Regions from separate parts of the Homo sapiens genome. Here region 1 is linked to region 2. The links are contacts of gene promoters, found by promoter capture Hi-C in blood cells and fetal thymus (Javierre and others, 2016). All regions are on one chromosome and are shown on one strand. Each heading gives the region's core, a stretch centred on a gene start or on the middle of the fragment in contact. The rest is flanking DNA. Distances are from core to core; before and after follow the strand shown.

What was found. Contacts are between HindIII fragments. The CHiCAGO score rates a contact against its expected background, and 5 or more counts as called.
Region 1: a fragment that was not itself captured here is called in contact with the fragment with the promoter of UBASH3A in region 2 in 2 of 17 cell types (M0 macrophages and M1 macrophages); the score reaches 7.0 in M0 macrophages.

Annotation. Positions count from the first base shown.
Region 1 is chr21:42,138,678-42,144,017 of GRCh38, reverse strand. UMODL1 (uromodulin like 1) reads right to left here. Exons shown (of 23, transcript NM_001004416.3): 23 at 1,022-1,922. Among named protein-coding and RNA genes, the nearest start is that of UMODL1-AS1, 33 kb to the right of the region's middle. The HindIII fragment of the contact is 352 bases long and covers 3,144-3,495 here.
Region 2 is chr21:42,401,020-42,406,201 of GRCh38, reverse strand. UBASH3A (ubiquitin associated and SH3 domain containing A) reads right to left here and starts at 2,300. Exons shown (of 15, transcript NM_018961.4): 1 at 2,144-2,300. The coding sequence starts at 2,256. The HindIII fragment of the contact is 825 bases long and covers 1,956-2,780 here.

The sequences.
Region 1 (5,340 bases), core at 2,070-4,569, 260 kb after region 2:
CCCTCTCATCACTTCGCCCAGAGCGCTAAGCTCAGGGCCTGGAGCACTGTGAGTGCTCAGGAAGTGTTTGTCGAAGAATAGACTTGGATGGGGGAGGTAGGATGACAGGAAACCAAGTTTTCATTATTACAGAAAACACAAATGAACAGACGTGGCACATGTATTAAGATTACATGAGGCCAGGCGCAGCGGCTCATGCCTGTAATCCCAGCACTTTGAGAGGCTGAGGCAGGTGAATCACCTGAGGTCAGAAGTTCGAGACCAGCCTGGCCAACATGGTGAAACCCCATCTCTACTAAAAATACAAAAATTAGCCAGGCGTGTTGGCAGGAGCCTGTAATCCCAACTGCTCAGGAGGCTGAGGCAGGAGAATTGCTTGAACACGGGAGGTGGAGGTTGCAGTGAGCCGAGGTCACGCCATTGCACTCCCGCCTGGACAACAAGAGCGAGACTTTGTCTCAAAAAAAAAAAAATTACTTGAAAACTGTAGATGAAGTTTGAAAGACAGGGTTTTTAAATATATGTCAATGACTTTATCTGAAATCCAAAGAGCCACACAGTCATGGGGCTCAACAGCTGGTTTTACTGAATATGTGTCATGCTCTTCCAAGAAAGGCAAGTGAAAGCTCCTCAGCTGACATCAGAACAGCGGGACATGACTTGGGAAGAACCAGAGATGCGTTTCTGGCCTCCCCAGCGTGCCCAACACAGCACCGGCCCTCGTTGGATGCTCAGCGAGCCTGTGATGGACCATCCCAAATGGAGCATCCAGCACAACCAGCCACATTTCAGTGTCTTATGCGATTGATTCTACTTGATCAGAATCTGTGATCCACACATATTACCCACTGTCATTCTTTACTGACTCTGAGAATATCCAGTAAATCAAAATACTCCTTTCCCCAAATGTTCTGTATGAATGACAATTAATTATATTCAACAAAATTAGTATCATGGGTTGAAAACTAAGGCCATGTTATAATTCTAAGTTCACTGAGGAAAAACACTCTACTTTCAGGTGTGAGCTATCTAATACAATTCCAGTTTATTTCAAATGAAGTACAGAGCATTATCTCTTAGGATGATGTAATGGAGAAAATTCTAGACTAAAATACTTAGATTTTAGAACCATTTTCTTGCTAATTCATTCTGTGACCTCAATTAAGTAACTCATCGGCTCCTCTGGTTTCTCATTGTGTAATGGGTAAATCACACCTCCCACTGTGGTCGGATTATATGAAGAAACGGCTGTGAAAATGCTTAGAAAAATGTAAAGAGTGATGTGTACCTACGTTATTTCTGCTTATTGAAAAGGTTGTCACATTAATCGAGTGCCTTTTGAGTCGCTGTCGTGTAAATAAAAGCAATACCTTGGTACACAGGAGAAAAGTCAAACAGCATAAACATCCACTAAAAATAACATTAGCAGTGTATTTCTAAGACTGACCTATTTTCGAAAGAGCATCAAGAGCGCGGTCGGGTCTCTCTGAGAATGTGAAATATTCTATATTTGCCAAAGGGTGACGGACGCCAAGGGAGGGCAAGCCCAGGAGGGTTCTGAGGGCTGGTGTGGAGGGTCACAGGCCTGGGAGGTCTAGGCTGCGGGGGCCGCGCGGGTGGTGGTGTAGCCGCAGCACCCCCAGGACTGCCCCCGTCTTCCGCAGCCCCTTCATCTGCCCCTGGGCTGTGGCTCCTCTAGGACCTACAGGACGGCCTGCCTCTTCGGGACAGACGGTGGCTGCTGTCTTCCTTTCTGGGCTCACCCGGGCTCTGGCAGAGCCCACCCGTCAGAGCAGACCTCCGTTAAGGCTTGAAGAGTTAAGAACCGAGGGATGGGTGGAGGTGCAGAGAGACACTGGGGATCCCGGGGGAGCCCACCAGGGAAGCTCTGAGGTTCTGGAGGCAGCTTGACTCACGGCGACCTGTGTGGAGGAAGAGGTCACCTGGGTCAGCTTGCACGCAGGAAAGGTAAAGTTAATACAGAAAACCCCAGGAGGAGGGGTAGTGGAGGAAACACCAACCCGAGGACATGGCGTCTATGTTTACTGGAGAGGGACAGATCAAGCCCCTAATGAAAAGGCAGCCACTCCCAGAGTGCCCAGTGGAACGGGGACCATGGGGCTGTGCCTGCCCTCAGGTGAGCGATGCTCCTGACACGCCAACTGGTGGGGGTGGCTGGTGAAGATACCTGAGCCAGACGAGCACAGCTGGGGCCCCTGCACCTTTGCACCATCCGTGGAGAACCCACCAGGACTCTGGGAACATCTCTGAGTGGGGCTGCCCAAGGGTCGACCTGGTGGGGGTGGGTGGGTTGGCTGATGGTTTTCAAAGAGCAGATGTCTGCAGGAACTTTAGAACTGGTGAGACAGTTCTCACTTCGAAAGACAGGAGCCCCGGGAGAACAAAGAAAGACAAGAGGCCAGTTTTCCCTCGGATGTTTTAATTTCGAGGAAGGGGACATCCAGCATGACCCAGCACCAATACACCAGATTTCCTTAGAAAGCTAGCGGGATAGTGTTGGCCTCATCGCTGGGATTCGCATCTTAAATATTAAGTAAAAGGCACTGACATTTCCTCGTAACTCTATCTAGGGAGGTGACTGGCCTCTAGCACTGGCCCTGTCTATGCTGTAAGGGTCCTGAGACCCCAGAATACTGCGTATGTTAGTTACCAGGAGTCCTGGCAGGAGAGACGGGAAAGACAAAGCTAACACAAGCATCCCCCTCACATGGGCAGAATCACATCCACAGGCGGGTGGTGTTTTCTCTGAAGTTGCCCAGCAAGGGCAGCATGGAGGTTGCCTTTTGGAAACGTGTGCTGTAGTCTGGGCTTTGCTGGTGACCTGGGAGGATTGGCTTGAGTTCTCTGGGCCCCATTTCCTCATTTTAAGATTGGAGCCAGTGTCTACTATACTTTGCTGAGTTGTTTCAAAAATCTGTTATCTCAAGAAAATAAGGACCTGAGCACAGGGAAGACGGGCTTGGCTGGGGAAGCTGCCTGCCTGACGAAGAGGGGGCGGGCTGGTATTGACAATGTCTCCTGCCCAGGATGGGAGGCAATGGGGTTGGTGAGGAGGGGGTCTTCATGGCCCAAACCCCATGGGCCCCAAACCAGAGGCCAAAAGCTACCAAACTGAGGAAGCTTCCTTATTTTTCACTATTAGAGTGTAAAGTTGAACTGAAACTTCGCTGTTGTTCCCTGCCCCTTTGGGATCCCCGGAGGTGGCTGAGGACCCAGACCACAATTGAGCAGCAGCACCTGCCTCCCGGGGAGGCTCAGGGGTCCTGGGAAGGCTCCTTCCCTGTAACCACAACAGTTGCTGCCTCTCAACTGGGACACCTGGTGTCCCCACTGCAAGAATTAAGAATTGTGGATCCCCTTGCACAGCTGCTAAAATACAAATTCTCCGGGTCTCTGATGAAGGGGAAAGGCAAGGGGCATTGTTCTAAGGGTCCATCAGTCATGTGAACACTAGTGTAAGAAAGGCTCTAAGCTTGGTAGCTAAGAGAGCTGACCCCAGAGCCAAACGGAAATCCCATGCAGCCCCAGCTCGGCCACCTCCCAGCCATGTGACCTGGGAGGCCTATCCCTTCCTGCCCTGGACCTCCCAACCACGTGACCTGGGACACATCCCTTCCTGCCCTGGACCTCCTAGCCACGTGACCTGGGACACCTATCCCTTCTTGCCCTGGACCTCCTAGCCACGTGACCTGGGACGTCTATCCCTTTCTGCCCTGGATTCCCATCTATAACACAGGATGCTAATAACAGCACAACCTCACGGGGATGTTGGGAAACAACAGACATTGTCAACATCAGCCCACCCCCTCTTCGTCGGGCAGGCAGCTTCTCCAGCCCAGCCCATCTTTCCTGTGCTCAGGTCCTTATTTTCTTGAGATAACAGATTTTTGAAACAACTCAGCAAAGTGTAGTAGACACTGGCTCCAATCTTAAAATGAGGAAATGGGGCCCAGAGAACTCAAGCCAATCCTCCCAGGTCACCAGCAAAGCCCAGACTACAGCACACGTTTCCAAAAGGCAACCTCCATGCTGCCCTTGCTGGGCAACTTCAAAGAAAACGCCACCCGCTTGTGGAAGTGATTCTGCCCATGTGAGGGGGACGCTTGTGTTAGCTTTGTCTTTCCCGTCTCTCCTGCCAGGACTCCTGGTAACTAACATGCGCAGTATTCTGGGGTCTCAGGACCCTTACAGCATAGACGGGACCAGTGCTAGAGACCAGTCACCTCCCTAGATAGAGTTACGAGGAAATGTCAGTGCCTTTTACTTAATATTTAAGATGCGAATCCCAGCGATGAGGCCAACACTATCCCACTAGCTTTCTAAGGACATCTGGTGGGTCGGTGCTGGGTCATGCTGGATGTCCCCCTCCTTGAAATTAAAACATCGAGGGAAAATTGGCCTCTCGTCTTTCCTTGTTCTCCTGTTGGCTGAGAGGGTGGGCAGTTGATATGGTGTGGGTCTGTGTCCCCACCCAAATTTCATGTTCAATGTGATCCCCATATTAAAGGTGGGGCCTGGTGGGAGGTGGTTGGATCATGGGGCGGATCCTTCATAAATGATTTAGCACCATCCTCTTGGTGCTGTCTCACGATAGAGCTCTCATAAGATCTGGTTGATTAAACATCTGTAGCACCTGCCCCAACCCCTTCCTCCTGCTCCAGCCATGGAAGACGTGCCTGCTTCCCCTTGGTCTTCTGCCATGATTGTAAGTTTCCTGAGGCCTCCCCAGAAGCCGAAGCCGCATGCTTCCCTTACAGCATTTGGAGTCAGCAGTCTCACACGCTGCCAGATAAGCCTCATGATTGCTTCTCTTCTTCTTTTATTAGTATTTATTTATTTTTGAGGCAGGGTTCCCCTCTGGAGTGTAGTGGGGCAGTCTCGGCTCACTGCAACCTCCACCTCTCGAGCTCAAGGGATCCTTCCACCTCAGCCTCCCAAGTAGCTGGGACCACAGGTGTGTGCCACCACACCCGGCTTATTTTTGTATTTTTTGTAGAGATGGAGTCTTTCTATCTTGCCCAGGCTGGTCTGGAACTCCTAAGCTTAAGCGATCCTCCTGCCTTGGCCTCCAAAAGTGCTAGGATTACAGGCATGTTCTTTTTTTAGAAAAATCTCAAAATTTGGCCGGGCACGGTGGCTCACGCCTGTAATCCCAGCACTTTGAGAGGCCGAGACGGGTGGATCACCTGAGGTCAGGAGTTGGAGACCAGCCTGACCAACATGGAGAAACCCTGTATCTACTAAAAATACAAAACTAGCTGGGTGTGGTGGCGCATGCCTGTAATCCCAGCTACTCAGGAGGCTGAGACAGGAGAATCG
Region 2 (5,182 bases), core at 1,051-3,550:
TGAAGAGGGCCTGATGCTGAACTTCCAGCTGGAAGTTCTAGCGCCTGTCCCCTGAGTGCTGCCATCGTGGTTTTGGACAATGCTGACCAGCTCACACCTCCCCCTCACTGTCCTTCCCTGGCTACCCGCTTCAGCCCTTGGCACGGGGTCTCAGGGCTGAGGACCTGACCTCCGCCCGCTCCTGCAATCCCTCTCCCTGGCCTGCCCCCCCCCCCCCCACTGCCTAGATCAAATGGACCCACCCTGCGGAACGTGCCCCTGGCTCGGACACACGCTTTCCTCACCCCAGCATCAGCGACCCTGATCCCCAGGCTCGCCTCCCACACCTCTCTGCTGGGAAACAGCCCTTTCCAAAGCACCCAGGCAGGCACTTGTTACGGCTTACACAGTCCCCTTGCACCCACGGCTCTCCCCTGCTAGACCAAGAACTCCCTGAACACAGGACTGAGTCTTATTCATCACGGTAACCCGGGACGTAAGTACATTGCATTGAATTGGGCAGAACTGGACCAAATGAAACAGAATGGAATATAGCAAAGGTAATTTATCAGGAATGCAGACTGGAAACAGCGGGCGTCCATGAGGAACCCACCACATGATGCCGAATGCTGCTATTTGGGTGGGCACCGATGGGGCTGTGGCCACCTGGAGAGGTTTGAACAAGGCAGCCTTGGTGCAGGGCACTTACTATGAGGTGCTCTGGTGTGGGGAAATTAACACACATTTCTCTTCCTCCAACATGTGCTTAATGTTTAAACTGGAAGGAATTTTGAGTAGAAGTCCATGCTATACGTTTAGTAGTAAAATCCAGCGTGGACTCCTTCAAAGGCATGGAAAGCTGGTTCGGGTTCCACCTCCGCCACTAATGCACTCTCTGGGCCCAGTGTCCTGCCTGCACTGGGTGGTGAGCAGTGGACAAAAGCTGCCTTGTCTGTAATGCCTGGACGGTGCCCGGTGGCCGCCCTGCACATGCCTGACCCCACTCCCCATTCAAAGGCCCCTGGCTTAGCTTGAACATAACAGTGACGACAAAGCCCTGATTTGGGGAGAAGAAATGGGTTTGTCTAGCTTCAGAGTTACTTCACCCAATTTGGCCAAGCTTTTGTTATAGTGTGGAAGGAAAGTTTAGCTCCTTCCCCAACCCAAAGTTACCTAAAGTGTGTTTCTGATACATTTTTCCATGTGAAAAAATGAATGGGTCAGATTTAAAGTGTGTTTCTGATACATTTTTCCATGTGAAAAAATGAATGGGTCAGATTTAAGGCACTGGTTTGCCATGAAAGCTGTAACCCAATGTTGGTGTCGTGGCCTCCCTCTCCGAGAGTGGTAACTCTGAAGGCTAAGCTCTTCCACATGCAGGCCTTTCCCTTGGGTAAGCAGGGTCGCGCTCACACTGTGTCTGAAGTTTCCTACCCATTTGTTTCGTTATCAGACACTCAAGGGATTGTCTCTGAGGACAAGTGACTTTCCCCGGGCAGCGTGGAAGCACAGCCCTGCTGACAGTTGGTCCCAGTGTTAGAGACTCAGCGGGCTTTGGGGCCTTTCACGTTAGAGTTTGAATATCTTGAAACGCCACTTTCAGAGTCACTGAGCTGCACACAAAGAGATTACAACCAGGCCCCAATCTCCTCCAAACCCCCAAAATGGGGCACCCAGAGTAATACATGGCTTCTGATTTTCACAAATTTCAGGGTCCCCCAGTCAGCCAGCCGAGCTGGTCTTTAAAAGGTCAAGAATATCAGGGGTATTCTTGTGCCTCCCTGGGCCACACATAAAATACGCTAACACTAATAATAGCTAATGAGCTAAAAAAAAAATCTCATAATATTTTAAGAAAGTTTACCAATTTGTGTTGGGCAGCCAACACAAATTGAACAGGGCAGCCTTAGGAGGCTGAGGTGGGATGATGGCTTAAGCCCAAAGCTGTCCTGGGCCTCATGTGGGTTGGACAAGCTTGGTCAAGATCACCTCATTTACGAGAAGCAGAAGAGGGCCCTGTGAAGAGGCAGTGTCTTACCCTGCAAGGTGCACTGCTTTGGCAGGAAGCCGTACCCTACACCCCTGCAGCTCCATGCCGGGGGCCGCAGCAGGGTCTGGCACCAGCCTTACTGGCTGGGCCCCGGGGTCTCTGGGCAGTACTCACGCGGTGTGCACCGGGAAGCCCATGGCCAGGAGGGGCTCCAGGAGCGAGGGGCTGCTGCGGCTCTTGAGCTTGTTGGAGACCTTGGCGTAGAGCTGCGTCTCCCCCGCTGCCATCTCTTCCTGCCCTTAGGCCAAGAAGCTCGCCTGCACACAGAAATGAGGAGATAAAGCAAGAGGGGGAGAGGCAAGGCTGAGGCTGTGAAGAAAAACCTCAAGCTCTTTTTGATCTTTCTGACAAAAGTTGATATCCTGTTTGCATGAGATATCAGTTTTCAGAATTCTGTTTGCAGGATGCTGGGTGCAGCGTCCACCAATCCTAACTGTTTCCACCACGGGAGTTTGAGGCTAAAGGTCCAACCGAGCCCCTGCACGGGATCAGCCTCTGTAGGGACTTGGCTAGTATTCGGGAGCAAGAATGCGTGAGAGCATGGGGGAAGGAAGCGGAGGAGAAGTCAGGGAATGAGTTCCCTCCTGGATCCTGCTGGCCCCCTGCCCTGACCCACCCTGGATCCCAGTCTCCTTGTCTGTGAACAAGACATTAAACCCCACTCTATCTATTGTCTCGGATTGCTGGAAAACTTACTGGTTCTTTCAGTCATTCATTGACTTGTTTTTTTATTTTAAAAACTTTAAAAGCTTTATATGTGTACAGAAAAGTTGATGAATCATATGTGTATAGCTCAAGGAATTTCCATAAATGAGCCCACACCCCTAATTCCCCCACGACCCAAAATCAAACAGGGCAACCAGGGGAATTTTGTACCTCCTCCACCCAAGGGGACATTTGGAAATGTCTGGAGACATTTTTGTTTCCAAAATGAGGCGGGGGTGGTGGTGGGTGGGGTGGACATCGTGGTACCGGCACTAGTGGGTAGAGGCCGGGAATGTCACAGTGCCCAGGACAGTCTCCCCAACAAAATTTCACTAGTGCCAAGGTGGAGATAGCCTGCTCTGGAACATTCTCAGAACCTCAGATGCACCTCTGCCCCCAGCTCAGCCTCCTCCAGTTATCTCCTCCCTCCCCCAGAAAGTAAACTGCTGTATCACTTGTATATGAATTGTGCCTGTGGTTGAGCCTTATGTAAATAGAACCATATAGCATATTCTCTATCATATCTCATTTCTTTTTCCTCAAATTATGCCTGTAAAATTTATCCACATTATTGCTTGTAGCCACAGTTAGTTCACTGTTATTGCTGTGTAGTATTTGATTAATAAATATACCAGCCAGGCGTGGTGGCTCACGCCTGTAATCCCAGCACTTTGGGACTTTGGGAGGCCAAGGGGGGGGTGGATCACCTGAGGTCAGGAGTTCGAGACCAGCCTGGCCAACATGTTGAAACCCTGTCTCTACTAAAAAATACAAAAATTAGTTGGGCATGGTGGTGCATGCCTGTAATCCCAGCTACTCAGGAGGGTGAAGCAGGAGAATCATTTGAACCCAGGAGGTGGAGGTTACAGTGAGCAAAGATTGCATCACTGCACTCCAGCCTGGGACAGAGTGAGACTCCAGCTCAAAAATAAATAAATAAAATAAATATAACATAATTCATTTATCCATTTCTCTGTTGATATGCATTCAGGAAGTTTTCGGTTGTTTTGCTATTGTAACTAATGTTGCTGAGGACGTTCTTGTATGTGTCTTTGAGTGCCTTGTGCATGCATTTCTGTTAGGTGTGCATCTAGGAGTGGGGTTGTTGGATCACAGAGCACGTGAAACTCCATTAGGAACTGCCAAGCAGTTGTACAAAGCTCTATATCCTCATGCACACTTAATATTATCAGTCCCTAATTTTAGCCACTCTGTGGTGGGGGTGGTGTGTAGTTGTATCTCCCTGTGGTTCCCATTTGTATTTCCCTGAGGGATAATGATATTGGGCACCATTTCACAGGCTTATTGCCCATTTGAATATCCTCTCTGGGGAAGTTCCTGTTCAGATATTCTGCTCTTTTTTTTTTTTCACTAGGGTGTTTGCTTTTCTTATCAATTTGTGGGAACTCTGGTTAGAGTTTTCTGCATCCTGTTCAAGAGATTGTTGTTAATCCAACATCGATGAAGATCATCTATGTTTTGTTCTAGAAGTTTTGCTACTTTTGCTCTTCATATTTAGCTCTATGATCCATTTGAATTCATTCTGTGTATGGTGTGAGGTAGGGGTAAACTTTCATCTACTTCCGCATTGAAAGGGCTATCCTTTGCCCAGTGAATTGCAGTAGGAGGCTTATTGTAAATCAAGTGACTGTATATGGATTAGTTTTTTCTAACTTGTGTGCTCTCTTGTTTGATTTGTCCCTCTTTGTGCCCATTCTACACTGTTTTAATCACTATAGTGCTAAACCCTCTGGTTTTGTCCTTTGCTTTTTCATAAACATTTACAAATCAGGTTGCCATGGTGTGTCATAGTGTGTCATTGGGTAGTGCAAAAAGATTCACACCTACAATCAATTGATTTTCAACAAGGATGCCAATGAAATTCAATGGGGGAAGGATAATGCTTTTGATAAATGGTGCTAGAGGCTCAGCCCATAATCTCAGCAGTTTGGGAGGCCAAAGTGGGAGGATCACTTGGGCCCAGGAGTTTGAGATCAGCCAGGGCAGCAGAGTGAGACTCCGTCTCTTAAAAAAAAAAAAAAAAAAGACATGGTGGCATTAGTTCCAGCTACTCAGGAGGCTGAAGTGGGATGATGGCTTAAGCCCAAGAAATCGAGGCTGCAATGAGCTGTGATTGCATCACTGCATTCCAGCCTGGGTGACAGAATGAGACCCTGTCTGAAAAAAAAAAAAAAAAAAATTAGTGCTAGGAAAACTGCATATTGGTAGGAGGAAAAACGAACCTCAACCCTTACCTCACATTATATACAAAAATTAACTCAAAATGTAAATGCTAAAACTATAAAACTCCTTAAGAAAACCTAGAAAAAAAATGTTTGCTATGTTGGAGTTTGCAAAACTTTCTTAGGACATAAAGCGAATAAACCAACAAAAGAAAAAGTTGATGAACTGTACTTCACCAAAGTTGAAAACTTCTGCTCTTTGAAA